2 separate regions of the Homo sapiens genome follow, and region 1 is linked to region 2. The links are contacts of gene promoters, found by promoter capture Hi-C in human tissues and cell types (Jung and others, 2019). All regions are on one chromosome and are shown on one strand. Each heading gives the region's core, a stretch centred on a gene start or on the middle of the fragment in contact. The rest is flanking DNA. Distances are from core to core; before and after follow the strand shown. Region 1 holds the start of DPM3 (dolichyl-phosphate mannosyltransferase subunit 3, regulatory). Region 2 holds the start of JTB (jumping translocation breakpoint).

Region 1 (6,942 bases), core at 298-2,797, 1.2 Mb before region 2:
AAACTGCAAACAAAAAGAGGTTTAATTGGACTTACAGTTCCACATTGCTGGGGAGGCCTCAGAATCATGGCGGGAGACAAAGGCACTTCTTACATGGCGGTGGCAAGAGAAAAATGAGGAAGAAGCAAAAGCAGAAACCCCTGATGAACTCATCAGATCTTGTGAGACTTATTCACTATCATGAAAATAGCACGGGAAAGTCTGGCCCCCGTGATTCAATTACCTCCCCTTAGGTCCCTCGCACGTGGGAATTCTGGGAGATACACATCAACTTGAAATTTGGGTGGGGACACAGCCAAACCATATCATCTGAATGACCATATTTCTTCCTTTTTAATGAGTTGCCCCACAGTTCTTCTAGTGTGTGATCTCTCTGTTGTGGCAAGTTAATAAACCTAACTGTCAAACTACAGATGTGGTCTTTATAAGACAGGCTTATCAATTGTCTTTCCTTTCTTATATAACTCTTTGTTTCCTCTGAAGTTGATAATTGCCTAACCTTTTCTCTTACTTTGTTCTCTCTCTCTCTTTCTCTCTATACATAATAAATTCATCCCCAAAACTGTTCTAAAGAATTATACTCTTTCTTTCAATGCCTTCACCACTTCAGGTAATTCTTCTGGTCTTTCTTTTCTTTTCTTTTTTTTTGAAACCCAGACTCCTGGAGCCCTTCTTCCTCTGGCTCCAAGTTATATTGGTTGTTGTCCTTGTAAAAATATGACTACCTCTGTTCTAACAATAATCTCAAGCCTTCATGGTTAGTTGTCAATGCAACTGCTTCACTGACTCCTGCTTTCCCCCTCCACCTGAAAGGGGTCGAGTCTCTTGACATCTCTGTATCTCCAAAGTCTATCATGGTAATCAAGAAATGTTCTGGCCGGGCGCTGTGGCTCATGCCTGTAATCCTAGCACTTTGGAAGGCTGAGGTGGGCCAGTCACTTGAGGTCAGGAGTTTGAGACCAGCCTGGCCAACATAGTGAAATCCCCGTTCTCTGCTAAAAATAAAAAAATTAGCCCGGCGTGGTGGCGCGCGCCTGTAATCCCAGCTGCTCGGGAGACAGAGGTTGCAGTGAGCTGAGATCGAGCCACTGTACTCCAGCATGGGCAACAGAGCGAGACTTTGTCTCAAAAAAAAAAAAAAAAAAAAAAAAAAAAAAAAGGAGTTCTGTCCCGCCTAGGCACTATAGAGAGACCCTGTCAAGAATGGAAAGAAAGAAATCTTCGAATGAATGAACTAGTGAATGAAGGAATGGATTTCAGCGCTGGAGAATTGAGTTTAAGGGGAATGGTATTATATTCCCATCTTGTTGCAACATTTAAGGATGTCCTCAAGCCCCACGCCAGCCTGGAGCGTAGCCCAAGGTGGGAAAGCAGCGCCGAGGCCTCTCCAGACCCGGCCTGCTCCCCGTTTGCGGAGCACAGCCCACTGTACCCCCGCCTAGATTGAGGCGCTGGCCAGGAGTACACCAGGCGCCGCCATGTGAACTACAACTCCCAGAAGGCCGCGCGGAAGCGGAACGTGAACCAGGGAGGACTTCCGGACGCCAACATCCGGGCCGCGCGGGGAAGGGGAGACGTGGGGTAGAGGTAAGTGTAGGTTGAAGGCTGAATGGGGAGGGCGAGAGATGGGGAGTGGGTCTCAAATATAGAGGGGGTAGCAAGGTGGAAGGGGCCCTTCCACCTTTTGTGGGCACTCAAGTTCGGACCTCTGGGATCGGCGATTCCCCTCTGGCCAGGGCTGGTTTTAATGCTCTCCGTGGGCGGGCTTCGGTTGAGTTTGGTCCGCTTTTCCTTTCTGCTCCTCAGGGGAGCATTGCTTCCTTCTCTCGCAGTGACCATGACGAAATTAGCGCAGTGGCTTTGGGGACTAGCGATCCTGGGCTCCACCTGGGTGGCCCTGACCACGGGAGCCTTGGGCCTGGAGCTGCCCTTGTCCTGCCAGGAAGTCCTGTGGCCACTGCCCGCCTACTTGCTGGTGTCCGCCGGCTGCTATGCCCTGGGCACTGTGGGCTATCGTGTGGCCACTTTTCATGACTGCGAGGACGCCGCACGCGAGCTGCAGAGCCAGATACAGGAGGCCCGAGCCGACTTAGCCCGCAGGGGGCTGCGCTTCTGACAGCCTAACCCCATTCCTGTGCGGACAGCCCTTCCTCCCATTTCCCATTAAAGAGCCAGTTTATTTTCTAACTTCGTTTAGTTTGAGTATGGAAAACGGGTATTGGGGATTCTATGTACTAACGGTCGAGAAGTGAATGTGAAAGAACCACCTTCTTGAGGCCATCTCAGCCTTTATCTTTGCATCTTGCTGGTGTTCCCATTTTTGCTCCCAAGGAGGCAAAGACCCCTTCTCAATATTTCTCAGGATGGAAATGACATTTCACTTTCCTGGTCCTTTCAACCCTGTAGGAAGTACTTCTTTTTTTTTTTTTTTGAGACGGAGCCTTGCTCTGTCGTCCAGGCTGGAGTGCAGTGGCGTGATCTCGGCTCACTGCAAGCTCCGCCTCCCGGGTTCACGCCATTCTCCTGCCTCAGCCTCCTGAGTAGCTGGGACTACAGGCGCCTGCCACCACGCCTGGCTAATTTTTTGTATTTTTAGTAGAGTCGGGGTTTCACCGTGTTGGCCAGGATGGTCTGATCTCCTGACCTCGTAATCCGCCCGCCTCGGCCTCCCAAAGTGCTGGGATTACAGGTGTGAGTCACCGCGCCCGGCGTACTACTTCTTTTTTTTTTTTTTTTTGAGACAGGGTCTCACTCTGTTGCCCAGGCTGGAGTGCAGTGGTGCAATCATGGCTCACTGCAGCCTCACCCTCCCAGGCTCAAACAGTTCTCCCACCTCAGCCTCCAGAGTAGCTGGGACTACAGGCATATGCCACCACGCCACCAGGCTAATGTTTAATTTTTTGTAGTGACAGGGTCTCGCTGTGTTGCTCAGGCTGTTCTCAAACTCCTGGGCTCAAGTGATCCTCCTGCCTGGGCCTCCCAAAGTGCTGTGATTACAGACATAAGCCACCTTACCCGGCCAGAAGTACTTTCTTGAAGCCTAAGTTCCATTCTTCATAACATCCAAGTTTTGTTATTTTTAAGGCCTTCCTGGGTCTTTCCAACCTTTTGGTTCTTTGAGATACCTTTTCTGAGCCTACCCTACCAACCTGAGAATAACTGTGGATCTATCCTTCACCAAACCAGGCAGGTTTAGAATTATGAGTAGAGAATGAACCATCGTGGGCAGGGGTGGGGAACACTTTATTTTAAGGCATATTCATATCAGCATATAAGGCATATTCATATCACAATGGCACGATCTCAGCTCACTGCAACCTCCACCTCCTGGGTTCAAGCAATTCTCCTGCCTCAGCCTCCCAAGTATCTGGGATTACAGGCATGTGCCATCATGCCTGGCTAATTTTGTATTTTTAGTAGAGATGGGGTTTCACCATGTTAGTCAGGTTGGTCTTGAACTCCTGACCTCAGGCGATCCGCCCACCTTGGCCTCCCAAAGTGCTGGGATTACAGGCGTGAGCCACCGCGCCCGGCCTTTTAAGGCATATTCTAAAGATTGCACCCCAACCTCCAAAATTAAAAAAAAAAATCTCTAAAAAATAAAAAGTGATTTCATCTCCTAGGCCCCAATCAATCATCTAAGTAAAGCTTTTTCTTTGGTCCTTTTATCCTCAAAGTCATCTCTTGTTCCCACAACCCACTGCACCTGGGAAGCTGGACAGCAGGCCCAGCTGAAACAAGGAGGTCTCTTTGGTTCAGGTTGGCACTAAGGTGCCCAGTGGTCAGATGAGCAGCCTCAGGTTTGCAGGAGCCAGTAGTTCCTGTCTTGCTCCTGGGGGTACTTCCAGAAAAGCCAGAAGCGGATAAAGCTGGTGACGATTCCTGGAAAGTTGGACACCTGAAATCACAAGAACTGCTATGAGGAGAGGAGCCAGTTTTCCATCTTGCACCCCTGTCACCCCATCCCAGTTGTGCTTACCATGATATAGGGATCTCTGAGTCGAAACCCATAGAGGCACCAGGAGGCAGAGGTGAGAAGGGTAGCAATGGTGAGTGGGTAGGAGAGACATTGGGTTGATTTAGTTTGAATCACCTTAGCCTGTGGGAAAGAATGGAAGACTCTCTTGGCCCAAGCACATCGTAAAGCTTCACTTGCCTAAGAATTTCCTCAAGAAAAAGGTCAGACACCCTCCCTGATCTGTCACCCAACCTTTCCTGCCTCCCACTCGCCCACTTCTACTGCCTTGTCTTCTTCCAGGGTTTGGATCTCCCCTTCCTCGGGACTGTAAGCCATAGTATTTGGCTATGAGAGCCTGACTCTTATCTCTCCTACCTCCTTGGACACCCCCACTCACCAAGTCAGCCAGTGGTGAGAGGTACATGCTGATGGTGAAGACACTGCAGAAGAGGCCCAACTGCTGAAGCCGGGCCTCAGGGTTGGGTACCAGGAGCCAAAAGTAGCCATAACCCAGGAGAAGGACCCCTAGCAGGGTTGCAGTCTGTAGGAGCACAACACGCTGCAGGGGAGAGAGTACCCTTACTTCCAGATGTGCACTCTGACTTCCCTGCTAGAGTTAATTCATCCTGCCTTCTCCAGTGCTCCAATGGGGAAGCCAAGCTGTCTAGGCCTCCAGCACTGCACTGTCACAGCTTCTTTCCCACCACCAACTTGATAGGAAAGTCTTATCCACCCACAACACTGGAGACTTCTGGGGGAGATAAATATGTGTTTTTTTCTGTGTGCTTGGCACACACAGTAGGAGCTTCATAAATGCTTGTGTGATTTAGCAGGGACGCAGAGCTAATCATCTCATTCTCACCCACAGGCCCTGGCTCTGAAAGAAATATCAGAGACAAAAGCCCTTTCCCCTTAGCTTGTTGGCTGAAGCCCAGGGCAGGCAGCATAGGCATCTCAGGCTAGGCAGAGCTACCAGCCTTGCCTAAATGGGGGCAATGTGTTCATCTCAGAAGGCTGGCTTCATAGAGGAAGGGGACCTGCAAGGCTGGAGAGGCCTTCCTGGAAAAGGTGGCAGTGCCAGCTGTTACAGTCTTCTAGGAAATAGTGTTTGCCCTGCCAGCAAGGCAGGGCGTGCAGCAGATAGGTGGGTCCAAGGGAGGGCCTCTACCTTCCGAGGGCAGTAATGCAGATATGCCAAGATATACAGGGTCTGAAGCGCAGCACCCACTGTGTTGACGACGATGAGGATCCCGTCTCCCTTCAAAGCCCCATAACTCAGCCAGCCCAGGTTGCTGCAGGGTGGAGGGGATGGACATGGCTCAAAGGGTTCAGTGTGAGAGGAGGACCCAAAGGGTCTTTCACTCTTTTTTTTTTTTTGAGACGTAGTCTCGCTCTGTCGCCCAGGCTGGAGTGCGGTGGCACGATCTCGGCTCACTGCAAGCTCCGCCTCCTGGGTTCACGCCATTCTCCTGCCTCAGCCTCCCGAGTAGCTGGGACTACAGGCGCCCGGCACCACGCCCGGCTAATTTTTTGTATTTTTAGTAGAGACGGGGTTTCACCGTGTTAGCCAGGATGGTCTGGATCTCCTGACCTCGTGATCCGCCCGTCTCGGCCTCCCAAAGTGCAGGGATTACAGGCGTGAGCCACCGCGCCCGGCCAAACCTCTTTCACTCTTGCTCCTCCTGCCCCGCCCCCACCTCCCTCTGGTAGCCTTTCCCACTACCGCAGCCGTCGGCCCCTCACTTGACTTCCGTGGTGAGAAAGGGCAGGAACTGGACGTTGTCCACACTCCGGGTCATTCGCATGTGCCTGAGGTCCGAGCTGTAATGGGGCCCCGAAGGGAGGGGTGGGGGTGGGAAGGGAGAAGCAGAGTGCTAGAGGGGGATGCCCAATGCCTGTCATCCTTTCCGGACCACCGCAGACCCCGCCCCCTCTCCCCCCCGCCAGCTATCCTGCCTTCTCCTTCAGGCCTAGTGACCAGCCTCGCCCTTGTACCCCGGTCCCCTCGACCCGATCCCACTTTGATCCCGGTTCCGGACGAGCCAGGTGCTGTGGCCACGTCTCTGTCCCCTCTCTCTCCTTTCCTGACTGCCTAGTCCTCCCCAACCCAGCCCGGCCGCACTCTCACAGGCCGGCGGAGAACATGCCAAGGGTGAAGACCACGCATGCTCCGTAAATGAGCGAGTCCAGAAAGCCGCCCGCCTCCATTACGACTAGAGTCGGATCCCGCGCCCAGCGCCCGCCGCGAGCCTGCGGTTGCCGGGACCTACTGCAGCCCAGACCTGCGGCTCTGGAGCCCCGCCCCGCGCACTCGGCTCCGCCCCCGCACGCTCGGGCCGTCCCTCCGGAAACTGCGCCGAAGCCCCACCCTCCCTCCGACGCCGAACCGGAACTCGCGCCCCTCTCCTCCGAGCGCCTTCCCAGTACCCTGGTCCAGACCTCTTCCATGTCCCGGTCAGTCCCCTTCCTAGGGCTCCGCGGGTGTGTCCCCGATACCTGCCGCTGCTCACACTCTGCCTACCCCTTGGATCATCTAGACGCCCCCAGTCTCAACGCTCGTGTTCCCACAGGCCTGTGCGCCTTCGGCGGTGGACCTCCAAACAAAAGCTTGCTAGTTTAACAAGACTTCAGCACGCTTTCCATCCAGAGCTCCACATCAGAACCTCAGTTGCCCAGGGTTTGGGAAGTTTTTTTCTGGAGTGTGCTGCCGAAGCTTTTTCTCAAAATAACACATTACCAGGAATCACCAAGCCTTCCTCTTTTGCCCTCCCTCTCGGGTCAACTTTACATGACGTGGCCAATCCACTGACGCCTCTATCACTGACCCCCGGTCCAACCCACTTGTTACTGGGAACTTTCCCTCCCAGCCTCCCACACGTCTCTGCTAGTGTGGCTGTGGGGCGGGGCCGCATGCCTCAGCTGGCGTTCCCAGCTTCCCTGACTCACCGAAACAGCGTGAGTACCTGAATGGTAGTATGCCAAAG
Region 2 (7,506 bases), core at 2,562-5,061:
TAGCAAAGAGCAGGAGGTAGAGTGATCTGAAGGTCTGGATATCCTCTTTCCGCCATGGGGTCCGGATGCCCTTGTGGGCAGAGCCTTGTCCTGAGCACAGGAAATTCCCAGCGAGAAGAACTCTAACAGTCCTAGCCTCAGGGAAATAACTGCACCTAGTGATTTATCCAGTGATTTGTGCAAGCTTCTTTGATTCTGCCAGCAATCCATTTAGTTATTTGATAGGCATTAATATCTGCTTTTATTAGTGAGGAAAATGAGAAGTTCATTTATTCATATATGTATATTGAGCATCTACTAAGTGCCAGGCACAATGGTCAGTTATTTTATTTATTTATTCATTTATTTTTAGGGACAGAGTCTTGCTCTGTCTCCGAGGCTGGAGTGCAATAGTGCGATCTCAGCTCACTGCAACCTCTGCCTCCTGCCTCAGCCTCTCAAGTAGCTGGGATTACAGGCGTGAGCCACCATGCCTGGCCAATAGTCAGTTAATATAGCCCTTTGGTGGTACTTACAAGCAGAGGGACAAGGACTTTTTTTCTTTTTTAAGACCGAGTGTGGCTCTGTCGCCCAGACTGGAGTGCAGTGGCACGATCCCAGCTCACTGCAACCTCTGCCTCCCGGGTTCAAGCGATTCTCCTGCCTCAGCCTCCCGAGTAGCTGGGATTACAGGCACGTGCCACCACACCTGGCTAACTTTTGTGTTTTTAGTGGAGACAGGGTTTTGTCATGTTGGCCAGGCTGGTCTTGAACGCCTGGGCTCGAGTGATCAGTCTGCCTCAGTCTCCCAAAGTGCTGGGGTTACAGGCGTGAGCCACTGCGCCCAGCCTGGGACAAGCAAACTTTAACAAAAACAGCTCTTTGGCTGGGCGTGGTGGATCACAACAGGAGTTCAAGACCAGCCTGGCCAGCATAGTGAAACCCCGTCTCTACTAAAAATACAAAAAAAAAAAAAAATTAGACAGGAGTGGTGGAGGGCGCCTGTAGTCCCAGCTACTTGGGAGGCTGAGGCAGGAGACTCACTTGAACCTGGGAGGCAGAGGTTGCAGTGAGTTGAGATCACACCACTGCACTCCAGCCTGGGTGACACAGCCAGACTCTGTCTCAAAAAAACAAAAACGAAAACAAAAACATCTCTTTGCTGAATAACAAAGATGGCAAAACTACTGGAAATGCAAAAGAAAATTCAGGCTTGGGCCGAGCACGTTGTTTCATGCCTGTAGTCCCAGCACTTTGGGAGGCCGAGGTGGGTGGATCACTTCAGGTTGGGAGTTTGAGACCAGCCTGGCCAACATGGCGAAACCCCATCTCTACTAAAAATACAAAAAAAATTAGCTGGGCATGGTGGTGGGTGCCTGTAATACCAGCTACTTGGGAGGCTGAGGGAGGAGAATCGCTTGAACCTAGGAGGCAGAGGTTACTGTGAGCAGAGTTCGCACCATTACACTCCAGCCTGGAGACAGAGCGAAACTCCATCTCAAAAAAAAAAAAAAAATTCAGGCTTGATGCACAGCATCCTTAAGTATATATATATTATATTATATTATATATTACAATGTATAATTATATATATTATATATTAAATATATAGGAAATATATAATATATATAACATGTATATGTTTATAAACATATAACATATTATATATAATATATAATTATATATTATACATATATATTAAATATATATTATAATTATATATTTAATATATAATATATTATGTTTAATATATAATTATATATAATTATATTATGTTTAATATATAATATATAATACATATTTTAATACATAATATATATATATCCCCCTTTCACCATACATAATATTTTTTACACAGCAAAATGTAATAACTTGATAAATGTAAGTATCCAAGCATTGATGAGGTAATGATAAACCTTATTTGTGGCTTATGCTTAAGTTCTTTTTTTTTTCTTTTGAGATGAATTCTTGCTCTTGTTGCCCAGGCTGGAGTACAATGGTGTGATCTCGGCTCACCGCAACCTCTACCTCCCGGGTTCAAGTGATTCTCCTGCCTCAGCCTCACGAGTACCTGGGATTACAGGCATATGGCACCATGCCCAGCTAATTCTGTATTTTTAGTGGAGACGGGGTTTCTCCATGTTGGTCAGGCTGGTCTTGAACTCCCGACCTCAGGTGATCCGCCCACCTCGGCCTCCCAAATTGCTGGGATTACAGGCGTGAGCCACTGCGCCCAGCTGTGTTTGAGTTCTGTAGTAAACTGTCCGGTAGGTTTAATTTGCTCAAGCGATGAGGAAAAGACTTGCACTTTGTGCCTCCTGGGAAAGAGACTAACGTCTTCAACATACCTTATGGCAGATATTTAATTTCAGAGTAGAGACCCCACTCTGATGCCTGGTAAGGTTATTGGAAGTGAAATATCACAAGATCTTACAGTTTGTTGTGAGATAAGGTAGGATTTGGTGAGGAGTAACAAATACTAGCAGATTTCGGCCCAAACTTCAATTATAGCTAAACATTACTGGAAAAAACCCCACAACCTACTTTATGTAACATATAACTACTCACACACATACACAAAAATAATACACACACAATTTCAGCAAACACAAATAATAATTTAAAGAAACAAATTCAAAATTAGAGCCAGGTATGGTGGCACATGCCTGAAATCCCAGCTACTTGGGAGGATCCCTGAAGACGAGAAGTTCCAGGCTGTAATGCGCTATGATGGCTCCTGTGACTTGCCACTGCACTCCAGTCTGGCAACATAGCCAGAGTCCATCTCGTTCAAAAACAAAAACAAACAAACAAAAAACGGCGAAATGAAGGCTCAGCCCTCATCAGGTTTAGGTGACAGAGCTAGACCCTGTCTAAGAAAAAAAATAAAATTAAATGAAAATTCGTTATCAGACAGTAAAGCATGAACCCACAGTGCTGGTCAAGTCACTGCAGATCTGAGTGTGTATCAAGGTTTAACTCCATAAGATGAAAAGCAGGCAATGAATCTTTGGCCTGGGTGTTGACAGTCTAGGCTCAAGCCTCAGCTTTCCCACTCATTAGCTTGCTGACCTTGGACAAGTCACTTATATTCTCTGAACTTACTCATGAAACGGAGATACATTTCATCTGCCTCTCGCAAGAAAAAGTCCTGGTAAATACACATTAGCATTTCCGTTTTACACAGAACACTGACAGATACTTTCCTAAGATCATGGAGTTAATAACCACCAGAACCTAGACTCAATACTTATGGAACTTCAAATCTCATGCTTTTCTCATTGCACTTATGATTACTCCATTATGTAGGAGCAAGGGAGAGTTGAGAGCATTTGAAGAGGTTATGCAAAGGACCAGCTCTGAGGAGTAGGCTTAGCAAAGTAACATGAGGGAAGGTAACACCGTTCATCTGTGTAGCGGAGTGGGAGCCAAGAGACAAGGAGAAAGTTTCATGTTCGTCATGTGTCTCGGATATTCCGGTTTCTGCAGGGACGAGAACGCGCAGTTTCGCCTCCATCCCTTGACCTCCAACACAGCTTCTCCACTGGATCATCGGTGGCGATGAAGGGGCGGCTGGGGAAGGATGTCAGAGAAACCAGAAGCTTGACGGTGAATCCTCGGGTTTTAAGGAGAGAGCAAAGTCCTGAGAGGGCGACGTATTGTCCCTGCTCACCTAGCCCAGAATGAACAAACACGCGCCAGCCAGGGAGCAGCGAGCCGAGAATTCGGACGAGCCTCTGCAACCGCCATTTGCCGTTCTCGCAAAGACTACCAAGACCACAATGCAACGGGGCGCCGAGCTAATTCCCAGTGAGCAGCAGGCGAGGCGCCACCGACGCGGAAGACTATAAGCCCCAGCGGGCGACGACCGAACGCCCCCGGGAACACCGGGCCCCGAGCTCGGTCCCGCGCCCGAGGATCCTCCACGGGGCTAGATGGCTGCGTCGGGGGCGGGAGCGGAGGTGAGCGGGCGCTAGGGCCGCGAGCCCCCGCCGGCCCTTCCTCCAGCGCCCTGCGGACCCCGCAGAAGGCGCTCGCCTCCCTAGCCCGCAAAAACATATCGATTTTTCTCGCTGTGGCAACGGGGACGTCCTGATAGATCCTCTGCTCCAATAGGCAACTCCGGCCTTCCCTGCCCTGACCTGGAACCTCTGGGAGGGCTGCAGAGTAAGTGCCGCCTCTGCGCTCCGACGGAGGCACGAGGCCTGTGGAGTAGGTCCCTCTGTTCCGACAGGTGCGACACTTGGCGCTCCATGCTTGCGGGTGCCGGGAGGCCTGGCCTCCCCCAGGGCCGCCACCTCTGCTGGTTGCTCTGTGCTTTCACCTTAAAGCTCTGGTAAGGAGGAGGTAAGGGGAGGGAAAAGGAGGTCACTGGAGGACAGGATCGTTCCCGGCCTCGGGGCTGGGGGAGATCTTATCCATGGACAGCGCAGGAGGGGGTGCCCTATTTTCTGGGTTTTGACTTTTGTCCCTTCCCCCAACTCCGCTACAGCCAAGCAGAGGCTCCCGTGCAGGAAGAGAAGCTGTCAGGTGGGTGATTGTCTGGGAACCCGACACGTCCCGTCGTTTGTTTTTGGTTTTAGTATCTTCCCCATATACCAAGAGCACAGGTGGAAAAGGCCGGCACCACATGGAATGAGGGCAAGCGCTGTGCCGGGAAGTTGGATGGGCAGAGCCTGGGAGAAATGTTTTCTGAATGGCCTGGGGCTGGCATTTATCTTTCCTTTCAGCAAGCACCTCAAATTTGCCATGCTGGCTGGTGGAAGAGTTTGTGGTAGCAGAAGAGTGCTCTCCATGCTCTAATTTCCGGGCTGTGAGTATCTATTTCTCTACCCTTTTTTTTTTTAAACATCTAAGCAAACACTTAAGCAACATCTTAACATCCAAGTCTTATTAAGCTGCCTTTGCATCATCTTTTTTTCTTTCTTCTTGCAGTCTCAGTGTATGTCCAAATCTGTACTTGTCTTTCCCCTGAAAATGTGCCCCTTTCTTTCCAAGCTAATGGCAGTATTCAACTGATAACTATGGTTTTTTTGTTTGTTTTTGAGACGGAGTCTCACTCTGTTGCCCAGGCTGGAGTGCAGTGGCGAGATCTCGGCTCACCACAACCTCCGCCTCCCGGGTTCAAGCGATTCTCCTGCCTCAGCCTCCTGAGTAGCTGTGACTAAAGGCGCGTTGCACCATGCCTGGCTAATTTTTGTATTTTTAGTAGACTCGGGTTTCACTGTGTTGGCCAGGCTAGTCTCTAACTCCTTACCTCGTGATCTGCCCGCCTCGGCCTCCCAAAGTGCTGGGATTATAGGCGTGAGCCGCCACACCCGGCCTCAAATAACTATGTTTTATTCACTTTTAGTATAGTAGGCTCTGGAATGGAATGTATCTTTGCCACTCCTAGACTGTTGCCCCTGAAGTGTTCTAACATACATTCGTAATCATGCAACCACCACCTCCACCATCCGCATCAGAACTCTTTCATTAGCTCTCTGTTGCCTACCACTCCAAACCATAGCAGTTGGGCACCTGCACCTTCTGAATGGCAGCCTTTTTGTTTATCCTGTTGCCCCTTCCTAACATGTACTTTGCTCCTTTTCTCCTGGCAGAAAACTACCCCTGAGTGTGGTCCCACAGGATATGTAGAGAAAATCACATGCAGCTCATCTAAGAGAAATGAGTTCAAAAGGTGAGTGCTGTTTCTCTTCTCTGAGATCACCTCCTTTGCTCCTATGACTTTAGATGGATGGTCCCACCTTTTCCCCTGGTCTGGGGGTAGCATGGAATATCTGAAAGAAGAGGGGGCCGGGCTCACACCTATAATCCCAGTACTTAGGGAGGCTGAGGCTAACAGATCACCTGAGGTCAGGAGTTCGAGATCAGCCTGGCCAACGTGGTGAAACCCCATCTCTACTAAAAATACAAAAATTAGCTGGTGTGGTGGGTGCCCATAATCCCAGCTACTTGGGAGGCTGAGGCAGGGAGAATCACTTGAACCCAGGAGGCAGAGGTTAGAGTGAGCCAAGATCATGCCACTGCACTCCAGCCTGGGCAATGGAGCGAGACTGTGTGTCAAAAAAAAAAAAAAAAAAAAGAGGCTGGGAGGGGTGGCTCACGCCTGTAATCCCAGCACTTTGGGAGGCCGAGGCGGGTGGATCACGAGGTTAGGAGTTCAAGACCAGCCTGGCCAAGATGGTGAAACCTCATCTCTCTTAAAGATACAAAAATTAGCTGGGCATGATGGCGGGCACCTGTAATCCCAGCTACTTGGGAGGCTGAAGCAGAAAACTGCTTAAACCCGGGAGGTGGAGGTTGCAGTGAGCCAAGGTCACGCCACTGCACTCCAGTCTGGGTGACAGAGCGAGACACCATCTCAAAAATAATAAGAAAGAAGACGGGATTTGGAGCCAAATTACTTGAACCCAAGTCCCAGCTCTACTCCTCAGCACTATGTTATTGGCCATATTTTCTCATCAGTAAAATTGGTTAATACTAGCTCTGCTTATCCAGAGAATAAATTAAATGATCTATTTGAGAGGGATTTATGTACTATACACACAATAGAAGCCTGGCTCTGATTTCCTCTTGAGTGTATCCTGGCTAGGCTGAAGTAGAAGGGAAATTAGAGGGAGAAGCTGTCTGGCCTTCCTTGGGAATAACTATTCCTTCCTGCCCTCAGCTGCCGCTCAGCTTTGATGGAACAACGCTTATTTTGGAAGTTCGAAGGGGCTGTCGTGTGTGTGGCCCTGATCTTCGCTTGTCTTGTCATCATTCGTCAGCGACAATTGGACAGAAAGGCTCTGGAAAAGGTCCGGAAGCAAATCGAGTCCATATAGCTACATTCCACCCTTGTATCCTGGGTCTTAGAGACCCTATCTCAGACAGTGAAAGTGAAATGGACTGATTTGCACTCTTGGTTCTTTGGAGCCTTGTGGTGGAATCCCCTTTTCCCCATCTTCTTCTTTCAGATCATTAATGAGCAGAATAAAAAGAGTAAAATGGTTTCCTTCCCTTCTGTAACTTGGAGCAGGAAGTCATGGGGGCAGAGAGGGAAAGGAGGTGGTTACTTAAGGCCCCAATCTACCAAGTCTTCCCCACCACTTCTCCCTTGTTTTCCCCCTCTTCTACTACTTATTTCAAACTTCTGGGATACAATTTCAGCTAAAACGTTTATTTCTCACTCAAAACTTATTTCCCCTCAACCCTATACCCAAAGAAGAAATAAAATCACAGATACATAACAGAAGTATTTGAGGTACCCTCTCATATATGCAAACAAATGCAGACTAGGCCTCAGGCAGAGACTAAAGGACATCTCTTGGGGTGTCCTGAAGTGATTTGGACCCCTGAGGGCAGACACCTAAGTAGGAATCCCAGTGGGAAGCAAAGCCATAAGGAAGCCCAGGATTCCTTGTGATCAGGAAGTGGGCCAGGAAGGTCTGTTCCAGCTCACATCTCATCTGCATGCAGCACGGACCGGATGCGCCCACTGGGTCTTGGCTTCCCTCCCATCTTCTCAAGCAGTGTCCTTGTTGA

The links. The method cuts DNA at HindIII sites, captures the fragments that hold promoters and counts their contacts. A contact is called where the count stands out against the background at its distance.
Region 1: the fragment with the promoter of DPM3 here is called in contact with the fragment with the promoter of JTB in region 2 in 1 of the 25 tissues and cell types used here (aorta).

Annotation. Positions count from the first base shown.
Region 1 is chr1:155,135,136-155,142,077 of GRCh38, reverse strand. DPM3 (dolichyl-phosphate mannosyltransferase subunit 3, regulatory) reads left to right here and starts at 1,547. Exons shown (of 2, transcript NM_153741.2): 1 at 1,547-1,587; 2 at 1,833-2,187. The coding sequence starts at 1,838. The coding sequence ends at 2,116. SLC50A1 (solute carrier family 50 member 1) reads right to left here and starts at 6,226. Exons shown (of 6, transcript NM_018845.4): 1 at 6,087-6,226; 2 at 5,702-5,779; 3 at 5,127-5,250; 4 at 4,356-4,517; 5 at 3,980-4,099; 6 at 3,225-3,898. The coding sequence starts at 6,166. The coding sequence ends at 3,797. RefSeq lists enhancers at 1,248-1,307, 1,478-1,607, 6,696-6,785 and a silencer at 6,186-6,425. The HindIII fragment of the contact is 27,453 bases long and covers 1-3,897 here.
Region 2 is chr1:153,973,979-153,981,484 of GRCh38, reverse strand. It overlaps JTB (jumping translocation breakpoint), which reads left to right and starts at 3,811. Exons shown (of 5, transcript NM_006694.4): 1 at 3,811-4,315; 2 at 4,472-4,509; 3 at 4,710-4,792; 4 at 5,580-5,659; 5 at 6,650-7,216. The coding sequence starts at 4,233. The coding sequence ends at 6,806. JTB-DT (JTB divergent transcript) reads right to left here and starts at 3,742. Exons shown (of 1, transcript NR_186180.1): 1 at 2,325-3,742. CREB3L4 (cAMP responsive element binding protein 3 like 4) reads right to left here. Exons shown (of 10, transcript NM_001255978.2): 10 at 7,126-7,506. The coding sequence ends at 7,420. RefSeq lists silencers at 3,338-3,632, 3,921-3,970 and enhancers at 3,641-3,690, 3,692-4,340, 4,990-5,639. The HindIII fragment of the contact is 6,167 bases long and covers 1,884-7,506 here.